2 separate regions of the Homo sapiens genome follow, and region 2 is linked to region 1. The links are contacts of gene promoters, found by promoter capture Hi-C in human tissues and cell types (Jung and others, 2019). All regions are on one chromosome and are shown on one strand. Each heading gives the region's core, a stretch centred on a gene start or on the middle of the fragment in contact. The rest is flanking DNA. Distances are from core to core; before and after follow the strand shown.

Evidence for each region. The method cuts DNA at HindIII sites, captures the fragments that hold promoters and counts their contacts. A contact is called where the count stands out against the background at its distance.
Region 2: a contact is called between a fragment that was not itself captured here and the fragment with the promoter of ANKRD34C in region 1, in 1 of the 25 tissues and cell types used here (pancreas).

Annotation. Positions count from the first base shown.
Region 1 is chr15:79,279,260-79,284,499 of GRCh38, reverse strand. ANKRD34C (ankyrin repeat domain 34C) reads right to left here and starts at 1,778. Exons shown (of 2, transcript NM_001146341.2): 1 at 1,272-1,778. ANKRD34C-AS1 (ANKRD34C antisense RNA 1) reads left to right here and starts at 555. Exons shown (of 2, transcript NR_038997.1): 1 at 555-851. RefSeq lists a silencer at 1,454-1,652 and an enhancer at 1,304-1,843. The HindIII fragment of the contact is 7,267 bases long and covers 1-4,037 here.
Region 2 is chr15:79,319,806-79,324,662 of GRCh38, reverse strand. TMED3 (transmembrane p24 trafficking protein 3) reads right to left here. Exons shown (of 3, transcript NM_007364.4): 3 at 1,823-2,685. The coding sequence ends at 2,449. Among named protein-coding and RNA genes, the nearest start is that of TMED3, 11 kb to the right of the region's middle. The HindIII fragment of the contact is 4,091 bases long and covers 1-3,907 here.

The DNA of each region.
Region 1 (5,240 bases), core at 529-3,028:
TTTGCCAGTCTTTCCACACATATGATCTCCTTGGCCACCCTCCCCTGACACTTTTGCAAGGAAAGCATTATCAAGTATTTACAGATAGTTAAAATCTGAAGTTCAGACACATTTAGTAATTTTGTCTAAGGGCACACGTTTTTAAGTGCTACAGCTTTGATTTAAACTCTGTTCCTCTGATCCCAAGTTCAGAGCTATTTCACGCAGGGAATTCCACTCAAGCACATCCTCCCACCACTGCAATCTGGCAGCGTTTAAGAGCGCAGCCATACCATTTGCTAGTTCCATAAACCTGGACAAGTTACTCGGCCTCTCTTGCTTCAGTTTTCTCATCTGTAAAATGGGGATACTCATAGGACACAAATTTGTGGTGCACTGGCTTAGCACGGGGCCTTGGCACATGGTAAGCGCTTAATAAATGCTAGATTTTTAAAGAAGTTTGGGTACACCTTCCGAAATCCGGGGAGGCCACACAGTTTGCCTGTAGTTTTCGCGGAAGCTTGGGAGATATCTTTACACTCCGCCTCTTCCTTCTGCAGTCACGGGAAGCAGTTAGAAGCAGATCAGAAATCGAACACGTTTGCTTTTGCGATTCGAGAGCCCTTTCTGGCGCGGAGCTAGGGGCGGTGTTACGTAGCTGCCCTGAACTGAGAGCAGCGTTGGCCGGGGGCTAGGGAGCCGGGCTGTTCCACGCTCACTGTGCGCCTCGGGCGGCGGGGCTCGGGCTCTGTCCGAGGTGCTGAACTCCGGGGCTCCGGCCGCGCCGGCAGAGTGTGCCAGCGTCCATTATTGCCAGTGTCTGTGGGCATCTTCCAGAAGGCCGAGCATGGGGGTCAGGTGAAACCAGGGCGGTAAGTGCTTCTCCCATCATTTCTCAGAAATGCTTAGGTGCCTACTTTTTACAATTTCGTGCACATTTTCAGGATCATAACCTCTCACCGCCAGTTCCTCACAGGTTTCTGCAAAAACTGACGACCTTTCTTCCCCTTCAGTCCCTGCAAAAATCCAGACACCTATCACCCAGCCCCGCTCCGCAACCATTTCCTACAAGAATCCAGGCCCCTACGCATCTCATCCCCACGCGTCAATGCAAAAATAAAAAATGTTAAATCCGCCTTCCATTCCCGTCTCCCACAATTTCCTGTGATAAAAGCAAGCTGTCTCCTACCAGTTCCCCACTCCTGCCTGTGGCTAAACAGCATGGACCGACTTCTCGGGAGCTCGAGGTCCCCACCCGGGTGACCAATGCAGACCCCTGGGGGTGCGCTTACCTGGTGGGGACAATCGCCGAGCGAGGCCACCTGGGTCCAGGCTATAGGTAGTGTCATTATTATTCCCAAAACAAAATCAGGGGGCGTCCAGCACCCCTACCTGCAGCTGCGGGTTGGCTGCCAGAGGGCACTGCCAGACTGAACCAGCGCCGGGAGCTGGGGCTACCCCGGGCCCCGCGGGTCCTGTTGAGTCACTTGCCCAGAACTTCTTCAAGGTTCGTGAATAAAACCTCTGCGTCAGTTCCTTCAAATCGGTCCACCGCTCCTCCAAGTTGCGGTGGGAGCAGGGGAGTTTTGGGTTTGGTTTGGTTTGGTTTGGTTTTAAGAAAAAGAAAGAAGCATGAAAGAAAGATAGGAATCGCCCCCGGTTCCGCGCTGCGGGTGTGCAGGTCTCTGCGCAGCCCCAGACCTCCGGCTTGGTCTTCGGCCGGCTGTGCTGGCTGACGACGCGCTGCTGCCCGCTGGCGCCGAGAGCAGCTCTCCAGCCGCGACGGGCGAGGGTTGTGTGGGTGTGCGAGCTGCGAGGAAGGAGGAAGGAGGGGGCCGCGGGGGTGGGGAAGTGCCTACCTGCAGCCTCGGCAGAGGCGCCTGCTGCCCCACCCCCTCGACCCTAGCTCTTGGGGCTCCGACTCGCTCAGCAACTTAGCAGGGGGCTCCTAGACTCCCCGAGGGTGAGCGCGGAGCAGGCGCGGCCACTCCTGGGGTCCGGAGAAGTGAGGGGACGCTCCCAAAGTCTGACGTTGCAGGTCTCAGACCCTGGCAGGAATTTGAACTCGTGTCCCCTTTGTTCTCTCTGCGGCCCTGCCCTCCTCGGCTTTCCTTCACACACGCCCTGGAATCTCAGGCTGTCTGTCCAAGGTGTAGGAAAGAGAGGGAGAGAGGAGGGTGCAGTGCGATCCTCAAAACTGGGAATAATTTGATGATCAGGGCTGGTTCCACGGCCGTTGGATTTCATTCCAAATCAATGTTTTAGCCCACCCGCTACCTATTCCCAGGGCCTCCTGTGGAGTCGTTCGCGGACAATCTTCGTTTCCTTTTTACAAAGTAGTTAATAGTTGCTGCATATGATTGAAAGCATAAGGCATTGTATTTAGGAAGTAAGTGGCTCATGCTTGTAATCCTAGCGCTTTGGGAGGCCAAGGTAGGAGGACCGCTTGAGGCCAGGAGTTCAAAACCAGCCTAGGCAACATAGTGAGACTTACCAAAAAAAAAAAAAAAAAAAAAAAAAAAAAAAAGTCTCTACAAAAAAAAAAAAAACTAAAATGCTTTCCAAAAAAAATAGAAAGTGAGTGCCCCCTCCTCCCCTACCCTGCAGTGTCCTTCCCCCACTAATCAGTTCCCCAGAGGTAACCAGCATTTTCGTCTAGATACATGTATATGCACACAGGGGTTCTATTTGCCCTATGTTTTTTAAATCCCTACTTCTTCAGTCATTTTTAGTAATTTATATTTTCCTAGGATATTGTCCATCTCATTTACATTTTCAAATTTTCTGGCACAAAGTTACAAATAGTGTCACCTTATATTTATTTTCATCTCTAAAACTGTTCTGGGCCTCCTTATTGCTGATATTATTTATTTGTGTTTTCTACTGCTCCATTCCCAATTTTTTAAATCAAGCTTGCTGGAGGATTATCAATTTTATCTTTTAAGGGCAAAAATATTATTCCATAAGTTGCCTTTATCACTTAGTGTGTCTATAGTATCACTTAGAGAAATGTACCCTCCTAGTACCCAATATTTATAATGACTGCCTACTGTTTGTGGAGTTTTTCTCTCTAAAGCAGTTTCAAGGTTTATGTAGTCAAACACATGTCTTATCTTGCATGGTTTCTAGATTTCCCATCTTGCCTAGGGAGGCTTCGTACCCCAGAATCACCATACAGTTCCCTAAATGTTCTAGTAATGTATAGCTCTGTTGTTTAGATTACCATTTCATCTGGAAACTGTATTTGTGCACAGGGTAAGGTAAGGAACTGACAAAGATGAGAACCCAATTGTCCCAACACCAATTCAAAAAGTCCATTCTTCGCTCACTGATGTGAATGCCACCTTTATAACACTTTATATTTCTCAAAACAAACTCTACTTGGTTAATGTATGTTATTTTATACAAATACACTGCTAGATTGCAATAATTTACTTATGTTAATATAAGGTTTATTCCGTCTATATTAATAAGTAAAAATTGTGTTCTTTTTCCTTTTTAGGGGATGAGGGTTCTCATTCAACTTTGGTGCAAGGTTATGGTAACCTTATAGAATGATTTTGGACGCATTCTGTTTTTTCCTACACTCTGGAATATTTAAATTATCAAGTTAACTATCAGTTCATTGAGGGTTTAATAGAACATACCCATGAAACTGTCTGGACTTGATGGATTTTAGAAGGATAGATCTTTGATTATCTTTTCAAATTCATTGATGCTTGTTGGCATATTCATCATCTGACCCATCTTGAGTCAATTTTGGGTAATTTATATTTACCTGGAAAAAAGTTCATTTCATCTACCTTTTTTAATGTATTGGCATAATGTTACATATTATGCTCCTTTATAATTTTTCATCTCCTTTAAATCTATTCCTATATCCCCTTTTTATTCCTGATGTTGTGTTCTCCCCCACTATTTTTCATTAATATTATTTTGCTGTAGTTGAATTATATGATTTACATCATTTCCGTGTTGTGGTCTATTTATATGACAAATAAAAAATACTCCACAAGCATTTTCCCTCACACTTAATGTAGAAAAAAAATGTACATTCTGTGTTTTGGGGCACAAACAATACAAGTACACCTGTAAAGTTAATTGTACATTAGTACCTGTATTAGTCCTCTCTCACACTGCTAATAAAGACATACGTGAGACTGGGTAATTCATAGAGGAAAGAAGTTTAATGGATTCACAGTTCCACATGGCTGGGGAGGCCTCACAATAATGATGGAAGTCAAAGGAGAAGGAAAGTCACATCTTACATGGTGGCAGGCAAGAGAGCTTGTGCAGGGGAACTCCCGTTTACAAAACTGTCAGATCTCATGAGACTTATTCACTACCATGAGAACAGTATGGGGGAAACCGCCTTTGTGATTCAATTATCTCCACCTGGCTCTGCCCTTGACATGTGGGGGTTATGGGAGCTACAATTCATGAGATTTGGGTGGGACCACAGCTAAACCATATCAGCAACCTTTACATCTTTACTTTGGACTACAGGCAGTATAGTGTATTGATTAAGAGCACAGACTCAGGGGTCAGACTGCCTGTATTTAAATCCCAATTCCAGCACTCACCAGCTGCATAGTCTCTGATGAGACACCAAATGCCTTTGTGTCTCCGATGAGACACCAAATGCCTTTGTGTCCATAAAATTGGGTTAATATTAGTATCTACTTTCTACAACTGGGATGAGAGGCAGCTAAGGTAAAATATGTAAAATGTTTAGCACAGTGTCTGATAGGGAGTAAGCACCCTGTATGTGTTAACTACGCTTATCTGCCTGATCTATCAGTATTTAAATTAAACTGTTAAGGTCTCCTAGGAGGCTTGAATTCATTTTGGTTTTCAGCCAAAATCTACTATTGAGTCTGTGCTATGTGACCTGATCTGCCTTCTTTTGGAGTGCTGTAGATTTAGAATAAGACAGGCACGTTCTCTGCCTTTGCAAAGGAGCATTCTAAAGACTTGTCAGCATCTCTTTGGAGATGTGTGTGTATGTATGTGTGTAAGTGAATCAACTCACACTGTTCCATGAAGCAAAAGGACTTTTGCAACCTATTCCAAGTCTGCTTTCTTATGGATATCTCAGCTACTTCCTCAGAGATGCACCTTACATGCTAGGCCTACTTGATTAAAAACAACAACAGCAATAGTACTTTTTTTTTAAAAAAATTGCTAATAATAGTAATAAAAGCTTTGAATATCTACTACTATCAATGCCCTCCAGCTTAAGACCACCAGGGACTCAAGTA
Region 2 (4,857 bases), core at 613-3,112, 40 kb before region 1:
ATTTTTAAAGCTGACATCTAAAATATTTCATCATGAATTTAAATAGTTACAAGGGAGATAATTTCTACCATATATTAAATATTACTTTTTAAAAAATTACATCACTATTTTAATTATATTCAGTGGATTCTAATTACTAAGACGATTTGATACCCATCATCATCCATAAATAAATGCTCAGAAATTTTCCATCTTTCCCCTTCCTTCTTAGAGTCATACTTCCATTTCATCTTTCTTATGGAACTGTATTACTCTGTTTGAAATTATATAGAGTACCCTATTGTATTTCTCTATAACAAAAAATCTTCAATTTCAAAATGTTTCATATGCTGTTTAACTGTAAAGCTTAAGTGTTAAAAATATTTCTTCTGGGGCCGGGTGCAGTGGCTCACGCCTGTAATCCCAGCACTTTGGGAGGCCGAGGCGGGCGGATCACGAGGTCAGGAGATCGAGACCATCCTGGCTAACACGGTGAAACCCCGTCTCTACTAAAAATACAAAAAAATTAGCCGGGCGTGGTGGCGGGTGCCTGTAGTCCCAGCTACTTGGGAGGCTGAAGCAGGAGAATGGTGTAAACCCAGGAGGGGGAGGTTGCTGTGAGCCGAGACTGCACCACTGCACTCCAGCCTGGGCGACAGAGTGAGACTCTGTCTCAAAAGAAAAAAAAATTTCTTCTGGATTGGGAAGTTATTTCAACTGTTATTAGTACCTAATTGATCAAAACATAAACACTGCATAAGCAGTACATTTTATTGCCAACATTATTTCCTAAATCAGCCAGTGGGGCAGGGTTTTTGCCCCCTCAATGAATCTACATATTTATGGATAAATGATTACAAGGTTATATAAATAAAACAGGTATCACCAGCAATCCTATTTTTTTTAAGGTTGAAAGAACCTAGTTTCCATAAAAAAGTGGAAGACAACGTGAGTTTTAGTAAAGCTGTGTCCTTCAATTCTTTAAACTCCTTTCTCAGTGCTTGATAAGCATTACATTCAGGCTGGTGGTTCCCTCAGAGGGTGAAGGAGAAGGGCAGGTAGAGAACATTCCAGAAGCAATGGGTCATGTTGCAGTGCTTAATCTAGGTAGCAGGAGCATAGGATTTTTGTATTGTTTTTCACTTTAGACATATTTCACCTTAGACATATTTCATAAGTAACCTTTTATATATACCCAGTACTTAATTCTAAAATAAGAGAAAAGAAATAGCAAAAACATATGAAAGATAAGCAACATTTATCCTTCAATCAAGCTAAATAAGTGAGGCTTATGGGGTATCCTTTTAAAGAGATTATTTTGCTTCCTTTCCTACAATGCATTAACGCCTGTCAGACGGTGCAGGATTTCAGATTTGATAGGTTTCCTTCAGCGGAGACACTGTATCTTCCCTCCAGACCTACTGCACAGACATCTGATTGGTATGCATTCATTTCTTACTAATGGGCAAGGAGGACTAAGGGCAAGTGAGACAGTACCATCTTGAAGAGTGGTTGGGAGGGACTTCACTGATAATGTGCCTTTGGGTCAGAAGGAAATGATGGAGCAGGGCATGCAGATATCCGGGAGAAGGTATTATCAGAGGAAACAGCATTTGCAAAGTTCCGTTGTACAACATGGTGTGAGCATGCGAGGAGACTTCCTATTTTGTTTTCAGTCACCTGGGAGGAGTCATTTCTTGCCCACTCTATACATCTCTGCACAGCACCCCATGCACCTCTCTAGGTACTCTATGTCACATTCTAATTATTTATGCACACACCCATGCTCTGCAGTAAGCTCTGGAGTCCTTTAGGGCAAAGAAATAAAGGCACAAGTCTCCAGGACGCTCACACTTAGTTTTTATTAGCCACAGTTTCCCACAGTTTTCTACCTCCTAGGAAATACACAGCTCACCAAGGGCACCCAGTCACCATTCTGTCCTGCTTGCATGGCTGACACTGTTGCTCACCGAGGGTGAGCAGATCTGCAAAGTCACCCAGGGCCTGGTTTCCTCAGGTACAGAGAACCCCAAAGAAAGAAGAGCCAGAACTTAGAGCCCCTTTCTTCTCCATATGGGATAGGACACCCAAGACAAATGACCCATGCATCATGAAACAGAGGCAGGGCCCTAAGCTGCCCAAGAGGCCTGGGCACTTGGAGTTCCTGCCAACAGCCAGGCCACTGAACCATTGCCTGTCCACCCTCCCACAGTGGCTAATCCCTGGCCTAGTTGTAAATGTCTTTTCAGCGCTGCACACTTAATGCAGTCGGATGCCTTCTGATTACTGGTCTCTGAGACCTTCAGCTGCTGAGGTGCAAGAATCAAGCATGGGCATGAAAGGCAAAGGGCTACCACAGCAGCATCGTTCTGCCTCCACCCTGGGCTACGCGACCCAGCCCAGCAGGCTGTGACCTAGGAGAGCTGCTCCAGCCTGGGGCATGAGGGGCCCTAGAGCAGGATGCCGGGGCTAGGAGTGGACTGCCCTGCTGATGGGTCGTTTTTCTGTGAAGAAGCTTTTCAACAGTAGCACCTGACTGAAGCTGACCACGAACAGGGCAATCGTCTCGCCAACAGACCAGTAAGAGACTCGGCTATTAAGGTCTTCTGCTCGGGCCCGGTCCTGGGCCTCCCGCAGCCGGTAATGCGTCTGGGAGTCAATCACCGTTTTCAGAGCCTCATGGATGGTCACGCAGGCGGACTCCATCTGGGCAGGAAGAGAAAAGCAGTCACACTGCTAACCCATAGACAAATGTGGGATCCAGCAAACAGCAAATGCTGTTGTCAACATCCTAGGTGATATCCACTGAATGCTAACTAAGAGTCTGTGCTAAGGGTTTTACGTGGTTTTATTTAATCCTCACAACAAGCCTAATTGAAGCTCAGAGAGGTTAAGTAACTTGCCCAGAGTCACACAGTTAGTATGTGGCTGAGTTAGAGTCTGAGTCCTGAGCCTATGCTTTCAAGCACTGCCCTATACTCTCTTATTCAATCCTTACAATACTCCTGATAGGCACGGATCATTACCCTCACTGTTAACGAGGGCTTATCCCACACACAGATGAGGAAACTGAGGCTCCAAGAGGCTACACGAATTGCCCAAAGTCATACAACTAATAAACAGCAAAGTGTGAACTAGACCACAGTTGTGTTTGGACTCTGAATCCACTGCTCATGCTCATTCTATTATGTAATTGCTGCCTATAGTTTTATGTATAAACACAAACACATGAAGACACACGCTTCATGTATGTAAGCACATGCACACACATGCAAAGACACATATATATAAACAGGCACTACATAGACACATACGCTCATGTGTAACACATACTACATCATAACTTTCTTTACCTGCAAAAATATTCAGTGTGGTAGGCAGAAGTCTGAAAATGTCCTTCCCACCACCACCAAGGTCCCCCGCCCTAATTCCAGAAAGCTGTGAATATGATGAGCTGTCACCTCTGTGACTGCATCACGTTAATATGACACAGCTGACCTGAAGATGGGGAGGTTATTCAGGCCTGATCCCATCACAGGAGCCCTCAGACGCCAGGAGCTTTCTCCAGCTAGTTGCAGAAGAAGTCAAGACAGTTCTGAAGCATGAGAAAAATTCAATGTGCCACACTGGCTTTGAAGGTGGAGGTGACCACTTGCCAGGACCAGAAAAAGGCCTCCAGGCGTTGAGGGTACAACAGTCAGCAAGGAAATGGGGACCTCAGTCCTACAACCACAAAGAACTGAACTCCACCAACAACCTGAATGAGCATGAAAGCAGATCCTTCCCCAGAGCTTCCAGGTAGGAGCCCAACCTGCCACCACCTCGACATCAGGCTTGGGAGACCCCAAAGAATCTGGCCAACCTGCCCAGGCTCACAGCATACAGAGCTGTGCGGTAATAAGTGAGTATTGCATTAAGACACTATGTTTGTAGTAATTAGTTACTCAGCAATAGACAACACATTATGCCTGTGGGAAAACGTTGAGTTCTTATTCAGAGGCAGCCTCTAAACCACCATGTATCCAAGACCTAGAAAATTCTATCCTATCAGTGAGTTCTCAGGCTAGAGGAATTCACAAAGCATGCACCAGACACTCACTTCAGTTCCCAAACTCCAAAGGCAAACTATTTGTAAAGTACAGTACAATAAACTAGAAAAGACCAAGTCACTCTGTGACCTCCCTTCCTGTGGGCGGCAAGCCACCCAGGTGCCGAGGCAAGAGACCGAGGGCACGAGCTGTTCCAGTATAATAAAATATATAAAATAAGAATAGTGATACTAGATATAGATCATAGATAGGATTATATATGAATATCATTAATCATTAGTTTGTGGCAATTACTCTTTATTCCAATATTATAATAATCCTTGCTCTACAATCATAACCTAGGAAAAACCAGGCCACACAGAGATAGGAGCTGAGGGGACATAGTGAGAAGTGACCAGAAGACAAGAGTGCGAGCCTTCTGTTATGCCTGGACAGGGCCGCCAGAGGGCTCCTTGGTCTAGCGGTAATGCCAGTGTCTGGGAAGACGCCCATTGCCAAGTGGACTGTGGTCTAGCGGTAGCGTCAGTGTCAAGGAAAAACACCCGCTACTTAGCAGACTGGGAAAGGGGGACTCCCTTTTCCCAGTGGAGTTCAGAGAAGACTCTACTCCTCCACCTCTTGTGGAGGGCCTGACATCAGTCAGGCCCACCCGCAGTTATCCGGGGACCTAACTGTCTCCCTGTGATGCTGTGCTTCAGTGGTCACACTCCTAGTCTTCTTTCATGTTCCATCCTGTGTACCTGGGCTTTTAGATAGCAGTAGCAAATTAGTGAAAGTACTAAAAGTCTCTGATATGCAGAAATAATGGCATAAGCTGTCTCTCTCTCTT